Regions from separate parts of the Homo sapiens genome. Here region 2 is linked to region 1. Evidence: promoter capture Hi-C in human tissues and cell types (Jung and others, 2019). All regions are on one chromosome and are shown on one strand. The core of a region is centred on a gene start or on the middle of the fragment in contact, and the rest is flanking DNA. Distances in the headings are between cores, read along the strand shown.

Evidence for each region. Contacts are between HindIII fragments. The study calls those that stand out against the background at their distance.
Region 2: a contact is called between a fragment that was not itself captured here and the fragment with the promoter of KCNJ9 in region 1, in 1 of the 25 tissues and cell types used here (aorta).

What each region holds. Positions count from the first base shown.
Region 1 is chr1:160,079,544-160,084,110 of GRCh38, forward strand. It overlaps KCNJ9 (potassium inwardly rectifying channel subfamily J member 9), which reads left to right and starts at 1,995. Exons shown (of 3, transcript NM_004983.3): 1 at 1,995-2,154; 2 at 4,374-4,567. The coding sequence starts at 4,488. The HindIII fragment of the contact is 10,034 bases long and covers 1-4,567 here.
Region 2 is chr1:160,217,405-160,221,971 of GRCh38, forward strand. DCAF8 (DDB1 and CUL4 associated factor 8) reads right to left here. Exons shown (of 14, transcript NM_015726.4): 12 at 1,445-1,564; 13 at 920-1,036; 14 at 1-304. The coding sequence ends at 188. Among named protein-coding and RNA genes, the nearest start is that of PEA15-AS1, 11 kb to the left of the region's middle. The HindIII fragment of the contact is 5,386 bases long and covers 1-4,567 here.

The sequences.
Region 1 (4,567 bases), core at 745-3,244:
TTATGGCTTTACAGTAACCCATGATATTAATATTCCACAGATATTACATTACTGAGGCACACTAGGCTAAGGCTGACAACACCAAATGCTGGCAGGAATGTGGAGCAACAGGAACAGGAATTCGTGGCTGATGGGAATGCAAAATGGTACAGCTACTTTGGAAGAAAGTGTGGCAGTTTCCTAAAAAACTAAACATACTCTTACCATACGATCCAGGAATCATGCTCCTTGGTATCTACCCAAAGGAGATGAAAACTTACGTCCACATGAAAATCTGCCGATGGATGTTTATAGCAGCTGTATTCATCATGGCCAAATCTTGAAAGCAACCGAGATGTCCTTCAGTAGGTAAATAGATAAATAAACCATGGCCATCCTGAAATGGAATATTATTCAGTGCCAAAAAGAAATGAACTACAAAGCCATGAAAAGACATGGAGGAACCTTAAATTTACATTACTAAGTGAAAGAAGCCAATTTGAAATGGCTACATATTGTACAATTCCAACGACATGACATTCTGGAAAAGGAAAATTATGGAAACAGGAAAAAGAGCAGTTGTTGCCAGGGGTTAGGGAAGGGGGATTGACTAGGCAGAGCATAGAGGACTTTTACAGCAATGAGACTATAATGGTGGATACACATCATTATATATTTGTCCAAACCCACAGAGTGTACAACACCAAAAGTGAACCCTAATGTCAGCTATGGACTTTGGGCGATTATGATGTCAATGTAGCTTCATCACTTGTAACAAATGTGCCATTCTGGTGGATGTGTGGGGACAGGGGGCATACGGAAAATCTCTATAACTTTCCTCTCAGTTTTGCTCTGAATCTAAAACTACCCTTTAAGAAGTCTTCTTTTAAAACAATTTACAAAGCATGAGGTGATACAGATGTGGGAGTTTGGCTCCTGTCTCTGCCCAACTCTGTGACATTCGATAAATTACTTAACATGTCTCTGTTTCAGTTTCCTCATCTATAACTGGGAAAAATAACACCTGTCTTATAGAGTTGCCATGGGGATGACATGAGGCATGTGTCTCGTTCATATCCCATGCTCAGTGAATTAGTAGCAGCAGCCACTGTGTGTTTGTGTGTCTTTATCCCTCCTGGGTTAATGAGCTCCTTGTGGGCAGGGACTCACCCATTCTGTAACCACCCCATCTAACACACTGCCTGGCACTTGGGCTCCGCAGAAGTTTGCCGAGTGAATACTTAGTAAGCCCTAACCTAGGCTTTTCTCTCTGGTGGACATTTGGGTTGTTTCTAGGGTTTTTGCTATGAATAAAACACATTTCAAAGCCCTTTGTGGTTTTTTTGGTTTTTGTTTGTTTGTTTTTTCTTCGTTTGATCTGCTGACTCTGTGAAGCAGGCAGAAAGGGGATATTTGCTCTTGTCCACACCCTGGTACAGATGGAATAACTGTGGCTCAGGGAAGTGAAGTGACTCCTATGGGACACAGTGCAAATCAGTGGCAATAATTAGAACCCCTGACCCTGCCTCCCTTCCTTTAGTAGATCTATTTTCCTTCTAGCTACCGCCTTCTGGATCCATGGCCTCTCCAAAACTAGACCATGATGGTCAGCCTGACCTGAGAGCAGCACCTGCACGCAGAGACCCATGTTGAAGGTGGTGAGCTGCCAGCTACCAGATGGCCCTCTGAAACCCCAGGGAACCTAGCACCTTATTCTCAAATACATGAGGGCTTGTATTTTCCCCCAGGAAGGAGCTTCTTAGGAAAGAGCCAGCGTGCCAGCTTTGTTTTTCTTTCTTCTTCTTTTTTTTTTTTTCCTATGAGGGGGTGAGGAGCCAAGCTCTGAGTTGTCCAGGAGGAGGGACTTTGGCTAAAAATAGCTATGGCGTGTGGTTTGGATCAACCCCTAGTGGTACCCAGGACTGGGGAGGGGAGGGGGATGCTCTGGAGCTGTCGCCAGACTGGTTGCCGTGGAAACAAGAGAGGAGCAGGGGAGCCTGGGAAGTAGGGATGACACAGATAGCAAGTCCTAGTCAGAGCTGCCGCTACATTTAGGAGAAACAGCGGTGTCTGCGGCTCCCACCCTTCGGGGGGCCCGTGGGGGGGGCGGTGTCAGGGGCATGGACGCCACCCCCCAGGGGTCTCTGCTGCCGGCTACTCTCCTCTCCACGTGCTGTGAGTTGAGTTGCGGGGGACTTGGGGTTTGGGCCCCTATTTCCAAGGCAAGTGGGGGTTTGGGAGGAGCTGGTTCTTGGGGGAGTTTTCACCAGGTCTCTCCTTCCAAAAAATGAGCCCCCTTACTCCCCAGCTCTCTAGAGGGAGGAAGAGGGGCCCAGGAAAAGTGGTATTGCAATCTTCTGCAAAGGGGTCATAGCATGCACAAGAAATGAGGAGTAGGTTGGAGGAACTGAAATTCTTGGAGGGAAGATGGAGAAATCAAGTCCTTGATCTTGAGATAGAGGTAACAATTTCACACTTTTCCTTCCCCTGAGAAAAGTGCAGTCCCCCACTCAGGAAGACAGGATGTGGGACACATTCAAAATAAGGTTTACCTAGATCCCTGGGGCAATGGAGAGTGAGAGAGTTCTGGGGGTGATCCGACATCGGGGTTCCTTCCCCATCCCTGGGCAGAGAGATCTGTCTAGGCAAGCCGACTGGGGGTCAGATTACCTAAGACCCTGAGAGAACATCTGGAAGCCCACCTGGGACTAAAGCTAGGATAATGGGAGCAGGGTCGTTTTCTGCATGACCTGGGGTCTCTGAGCCAGTCAATGCTTACTCTTCCTGAGGACATCTGAGCTTCAGGGAAGGAAAAGGAAGCCCATTGTTGGGGGCAGGGGAAACCCTAATCTTCCATTGCCATGGGGCTCTTGGACCCTGTGTCCCCTGACTCCATGGACAATAAATGCAGGGGGTGCCCCTAAGCTCAAAGCCATTTCATTTTGATTTCTCTTCCTACCTTCTCTACCCCAAGACACACAAACACACACACACACACCCTCTCCAGAGTGCTGACTGCAGAGGACCTCACCCCAGAACATAAGATGCTGGAGTGCTAGGTTTAGAGTCACATACCCAGGCAGTTTCTCCCCAGGACCTGGTCAACCATCCAGGCCATCTGTGGTTCCTATGGCACACTCCTCCATCCCCCACCCACTAGCCAGCCCACGTTTCCGTGGAGTGGGAGGAGAGGATCATTCCCAGGAAAGAGAAGGGAAGGTGGAAGAGTCCCAAATCCTATTCTAAACCTTTCCCTGTATGGTCCATATCTCCTAGAGGACCCTGGGTGCTTTGGGGAAGGGCTCTGGACCTCTCTCAGAGCAGATTGCAGCTCAGAGAGCTCCTCAGAGGCAAGCATGTGAAGAAAAATCAGGTGGGCTTCGCTTGGAATGTGGGCTTTGGGGCATATGGCAGGTGGGGGCGGGGCTGGTGTTAGGATAGTCCATGGGAAGTAAGAGGCTGGGGGAAAATATAACTAGAGGGAGTGGGGAAATAAATGTGGGTGCTTAGTGCTTCACCTGATCTGATTCCATGTCTCTCATGAAGAATAGGATCCCAGAGGGATACGAGCCTAACTCTTTATAACTCTGGGCTTCCTTTCCCAGGCTTCTGTGTTGGGATCTTCCAGTTCCCCTCCCCATTTGCAGGCTGTCTCCACTAGGAGAAAAAACCCAAGGGAAATGAGGCTGGCCCAAGAGCAGCAGTGATCGTGGGTAGGTCTCAGGGAGGATTTCTAGTGGGAATTTCCTAATGTTCCACCCTTGTGCACTGGAGGGTTTCCACTGACTTTCCACAGCTTTCATTTCTTTCTCGTTTGTAAGCATGTTGAGGGGAGGGAATGGAGCGGAGTGAGTGAGGTCCAAGGAGGGAAGAATGAGAAAGACTGTGTATCAGTCTTGGGGTGAACTTCAAAACAGCCTGCGAGGAGAGCCATTGGTGGCTGCACTGGCTACAGCTGGGGAAGGGATGGTGGAAGTCCTTAGGGCAGGGAGGGCTCCATTACCCGCCTGCCCCCCTCCCCAAAAAGCCCCCAGTCTATTGATTTCAGGAAATCACTAGGGGGATCTGGGCCTGGGTCTTTGGCCCCGGGGCTGCCCCTGAGGTGCTGCACACCCCAGCTGGAGGTGATGGCACCAAAATATCTGGTACCTCCTTCCCCTGAAAATCATCGTGGAACTTGCACAGTTCTATCCAGTTCAGGTACATCATTCCATTTGACCCTCACAACTTTCTGAGCCTGGGGGGCAGTTAGGGCTGAATGTGTTATTCCCAGAAATAGAGGCCAGGCAACACGAAGGGACTCGCCCAGGGCCCCCCAGGGCTCGGTGCTGGCCCTGATGCCCCGTGCCTCCCCATCTCCCGAGGGGCCACTCATTCGGCAAACCTTTATTAAGCCCCTCCAGGACCCCCGACGCCGCCTAGGCGCCCAGCGACGCGCGGCAGGTGGCAGCAGCTCGGGCCCCCGCCGCACTCCAGGCGCCCGCAGCGCTCGCCCTGACGCGGCCGCCATGGCGCAGGAGAACGCGGCCTTCTCGCCCGGGCAGGAGGAGCCGCCGCGGCGCCGCGGCCGCCAGCGCTACGTGGAGAA
Region 2 (4,567 bases), core at 1,172-3,671, 140 kb after region 1:
CTCCCATTCCTAGGTACTCTTTGTTGGTTCACTCCTCTGGTTTGTCCTTCTCCTGGGATGTCTTTCTTTTATCTAAAGCAAAAAGTCCAAAGTGCGTTTCTGCTGAATGTAGGGCCTGGGACAGGAAAGGGTTGCCCAGGCAGGATCAGGTTGGCAGCCCCAGCCTGCCCCACCTAGGTATGAGGCCTCAAGATGGCATGCACTGCACCCGGTCAGGGCCCTCCTCCTCGTCCGATGTGTCTGAGGAGCTGGGAGACTCATCAGAGTCCGCGTCTGTGGCCCCAACCCCAGGTTCTCGCCAGCGCTGTGGATGGGAAAGGCTTGTTAGTAACTTCCCTGGATGGAACAAGGACAAGCCTGTTAGGTCTTAGCCAGAATTTAGATGCTTTAGGCCAGAGATCAGCAGAATTTTTCTTAAAGGGCCAGAGAGTAAATACTTTAGACTTGTGGTCTATATGGTCTTTATTGCAACTATTCAACTCATTGTAGCGTGAAGGCCGCCACAGACAATACACAGAATGGGTATGGCTGCAAGCCAATGAAACTTTATTTACAAAAACCAGCAGCAGGCCAACTGCCAGTTTGCCAACCCCTGAACTAGGCCTCTTTTGGCATAAGAGGAAAAATAGAAGGGTCACACTGAGACTTGTTATTTCTTCTCAATTCCCTCCTCCACCCTCCAGCTTTTGCCTTTATGAAGATAGCATTACACATGGACGGCAATGGACAAAAGTAGATACCACCCTTTTCTGCTGATGTCTCTTCCAAGGCTATATCAGGGATCTGATGGGGACAGAGGACAGTGGATAGGAAATCCGACCAAGATCACCTGATTACTGCTTGAAGTCACTACTCTGGAACTTTTTAGCCCTCTTAAAAGGGTCACTCCCTTGGGAATTCATTTCCAACCCTAGCTTACCCGGTGATGGCGTCTCTGTCTCAGGTGATGCATAAGGAACCACAGCATGTGACTATCAAACAGGTCAGTTTGGTGCAAGCTATCTTCATCCCGCTCCCGCTTGTTCTTCTTAATCACCTGGAACCCAAAAAGGTTGGGAAGAGGGGGCAGCAATGAAGAGGAACCCGGGACCTGATCAAGAAGGCTGATCTCCTATCCCAATAAAAGCTTCCCTTAAGTTGAAGTGGAGCTACATTAGATTAGGAAATGATGCCCTAGGTTCAGCTGCTGAAAAGGTAGCAGGCTTTAATACAGAATAATTCTTAAAGATGCTCCTTATCCCCATCCTATTACAAATTAGTGCCACTTCACAGCTGCCCCCTGGAGCAGGACTATTCCTACAGAGGAAATTACAGGAATGTGGGGGAGGGTGTTAGAGCAGTGCCTTTAAAGAACTGGGCAGCAAGTTATTCCTCCCTATGACAATAAGAATCAACAGTATGTGGATAAGCAGAAAGAAAATAACTTCTGCAGTCAGCCACTTACATCTTTTAACCCTGTCAGCTCAGTGGAAGCTTCAGCTGTGGGTGCCCAGATCTTCACATCATGGTCTAGGCCACTGGTTGCCAGCACAGGCAGGTGAGGGTGGGGCTCAAGACAGTTTACCTGGTCAGGAAGAAAGGAAAACACAGACTCAGCAGTGTGTGGGAGTAGGGTTTAAAAACCACTACTCACCTTGAGCCAAATAACTGCCCTTGATCAGGGCTGAGGCAGCTGCTGGGGAAGGGAGGCCCACCCATCCTGAGCCTAAGCCAAAGGGCACTGAGGGTAGAGAAACCAGACACAGACTGGGTATAAGACCAGGCACATCAATCATTTCCTATGTATAGGTCGGGGGTGGCTTCATCCCCAGATATGGCCCTAGGGGTGGGTGAGTGGACTGCCCAAGCTTACTGCTGGCTTCGTAAGAAGACAATGAAATCCAGATGACCTCATTCACTCCAGATTCCAAAGCTCCAACTTGCCCAAGGCTGGAAAAAACCATCTCAGTGGCTTTCACCAAGTGGCAAATAAATTTTAAAAAATGAAGAAAGCAGCAGCTGCCAATGAACCCCCAGAGAAGAGTCGGAGAACTATATTCATTTGGCAGTGTTTACTAGAACTGGAGGAAGGCACAGGCTGAGAAGAGGAGGCTGAGTTGCAGGGAGTGGTGGGAGTGATGGAGGCTCATGTCTGCTTGAGAGAACCTTGCACATCCCAGGGGGAACATCCTACTACTTGCCCTGAGCACAACAGGCTCAGCTATAAGGCAGCACATTAAAACCAAGCAGCTTCTTGGGGCTCCCAAAGCCTCAATCTCAGCCACCCTCTGGGTAAATTCACTGAACAAGGCAAAAGAAATAAACTCCAGCAGGCAGGCCTTCTAGCTTAGGCAGCTTCCTTCTGTCCGAAAGGCACCCAATGCCCCCTGCTGTCTGACTTGGAAACATGAGCTTCCCTAAGGGAAGGGCAGGGAAGTTCCTACCCCATCCAGAAGAGTTAGTTCCAGATCTAGCTGCTAAAGCATTTTGAGTCTTTTAGTGAAAAGAGGAACACATAGGAAAGGCACCCTGCCTTGCAGCTGGACCTATAGTCCAAGAAAACAACTTCTTTTAGTTCTCTCTGGACCAACCACCTCCGCTGCCTCACCTGCACAGGCAGAGAACAGCTGAGGAGAAGTCAAGGGCAGGCATGGAAAATAGAGCTGACCTACAGACTTCCCACTTACTTTGACTTCCATCTTACAAATAAACAAATGCTCAGAAAAGACTGAAGCTAAGACTGAGCTTATGAATAAAACAGAAACCCCGTTCTTTATCTCCTCCTCCCATTCCACATATCAGCCTATTGTGAAGTTTATCTTTGGGCTCTTTTAGGCAGTGCAGTTAAAGTCCAATGCCTGGAATAGTATCTATCTATAGTAATGGACAACTTACATATACAAACCTGCACTTTTTCATCTATCTCCTAATAAGCCCTTGTTACAGACCTGTACTCTGAGCTAGCTCTGCTTGAATAAGTCAGGAAAATAAAAAAACACAGGGGAACAATTCCTTGGAACTTAAGACTAAGGAAAAAGCCAGTGGCAAGAGGAACAAGAGAATAACATACAGTACCTGAATTGGAGCCTGCGGGGGGAGCCGACAGAGAACTTCTGGGCCAGAGTACCTGGTCACTTCACCAGACCTGTCTGAATGCCAGGACTTATCCTGTCAATAATGCCTGAGCAGAGAAAAGAGCTCTGGCCTTAGATGACTGGGCTGGGGGAATGTAGAGAATGGGATCAAGCATCAAAGTGCTCTTGGGAGACTAAGGGGCTGTCCTCTGATACCACCCCCAACCCTTGTCCCTGTGAAGCTGAATGGGAACAAAGAAAAGATCCTCAAATCAGTCAGGAGATCTGGGCAAGGCAGAAAATAACTTCTAAGATCTTTGGTTCTAACATTCTACGTTACAATTACATTCTACTCTACATTTACAATTTGCATGATATAGAACTGCTGAGTCTACTACATTGAAAGTAGTGCCTGGTAACCCCCACTGCTGGAAAATTAGGACCAAAAAACAGAGCAGAGGGAGCCAAGTAAAAGACCACATCGATCATTCAGCTTACACAGAGACAAGAATATGTAAGGAAATTTGCTTCAGGGGTAGCCTCTATATCTCTTATTCTACTCATTTACTCTTAGGACCACTAAAACTTAGGCCTGGGGCCCACCCATCCCAAGTAGATGCCTTCCTCACCTGGGCAAATGGGTTAATCATCAAACCCTGGCATTGGCTGAGCTAAAAGCAAACTGGCCTGCAGAATGCTTTTGGAGAATGGACAAATGCTGGCCTGGGAGAGGGCATTCAGCCCTGCATCTCTCTGGAACAGAATGCAAGGCAATAGCTTATGTCAAGAAAAAATTCACTGGCCCCTTCTGACTTCCTTTCTCTAAATGCCTATTGCATAATTCCCATTAAGACTCAAGTGTTTTGGGTTTGTTCACTGCAGATGACACAGGGGGACCTATGGAAGAGTTGGAAATGAAGCAGGGAAGAGTGAGACACACCTTGAACTTCTAGACTCCTCTCCATTTGTATTCAAACCATAAAAACCCTAGATCTATGCAGGTCCCAGGTCCCTGAAATTTAGAGGAAACCAGAAGAAAATTTGAAATACCCTTTCACCAGGGCAAGAAAAACATAAGGAATGGGATCCTGATTGCAAAGAACCATTCTAAATTCTAAAACCACTCTCTGAAAAAACCTCATCAAGAGATGGCTAGGCTCTTTGAAGTTCCCCACAGCTAAGAAGGAATAAAAAGGAAGAGAGACTTAGCTGTCTCAGTCATTCCTTAGAGGCCTTGGATAACCAGACTATTCTGGGCAATCAGTATAATTTAGTCTTCCAAACTGTGTTTTTCCCATCTCCTGTGGTCCAAAAACCTTGTAACAGAAAGCGATTGAACTCCTTCCTAATTCTAGGTCTCAAAAAAAAAAAAAAAAAAAAAAAGATAAGGTTAACCAGATACATCTTAAGAGCTGATTGCTCTTCATTCCCTAACTCGATTCTCACTCTTCCTTTTTGCCCTAACTCCACAGAGGGCTGCAGAACTCAAAGGCCAGGCAGACTATGATACGATC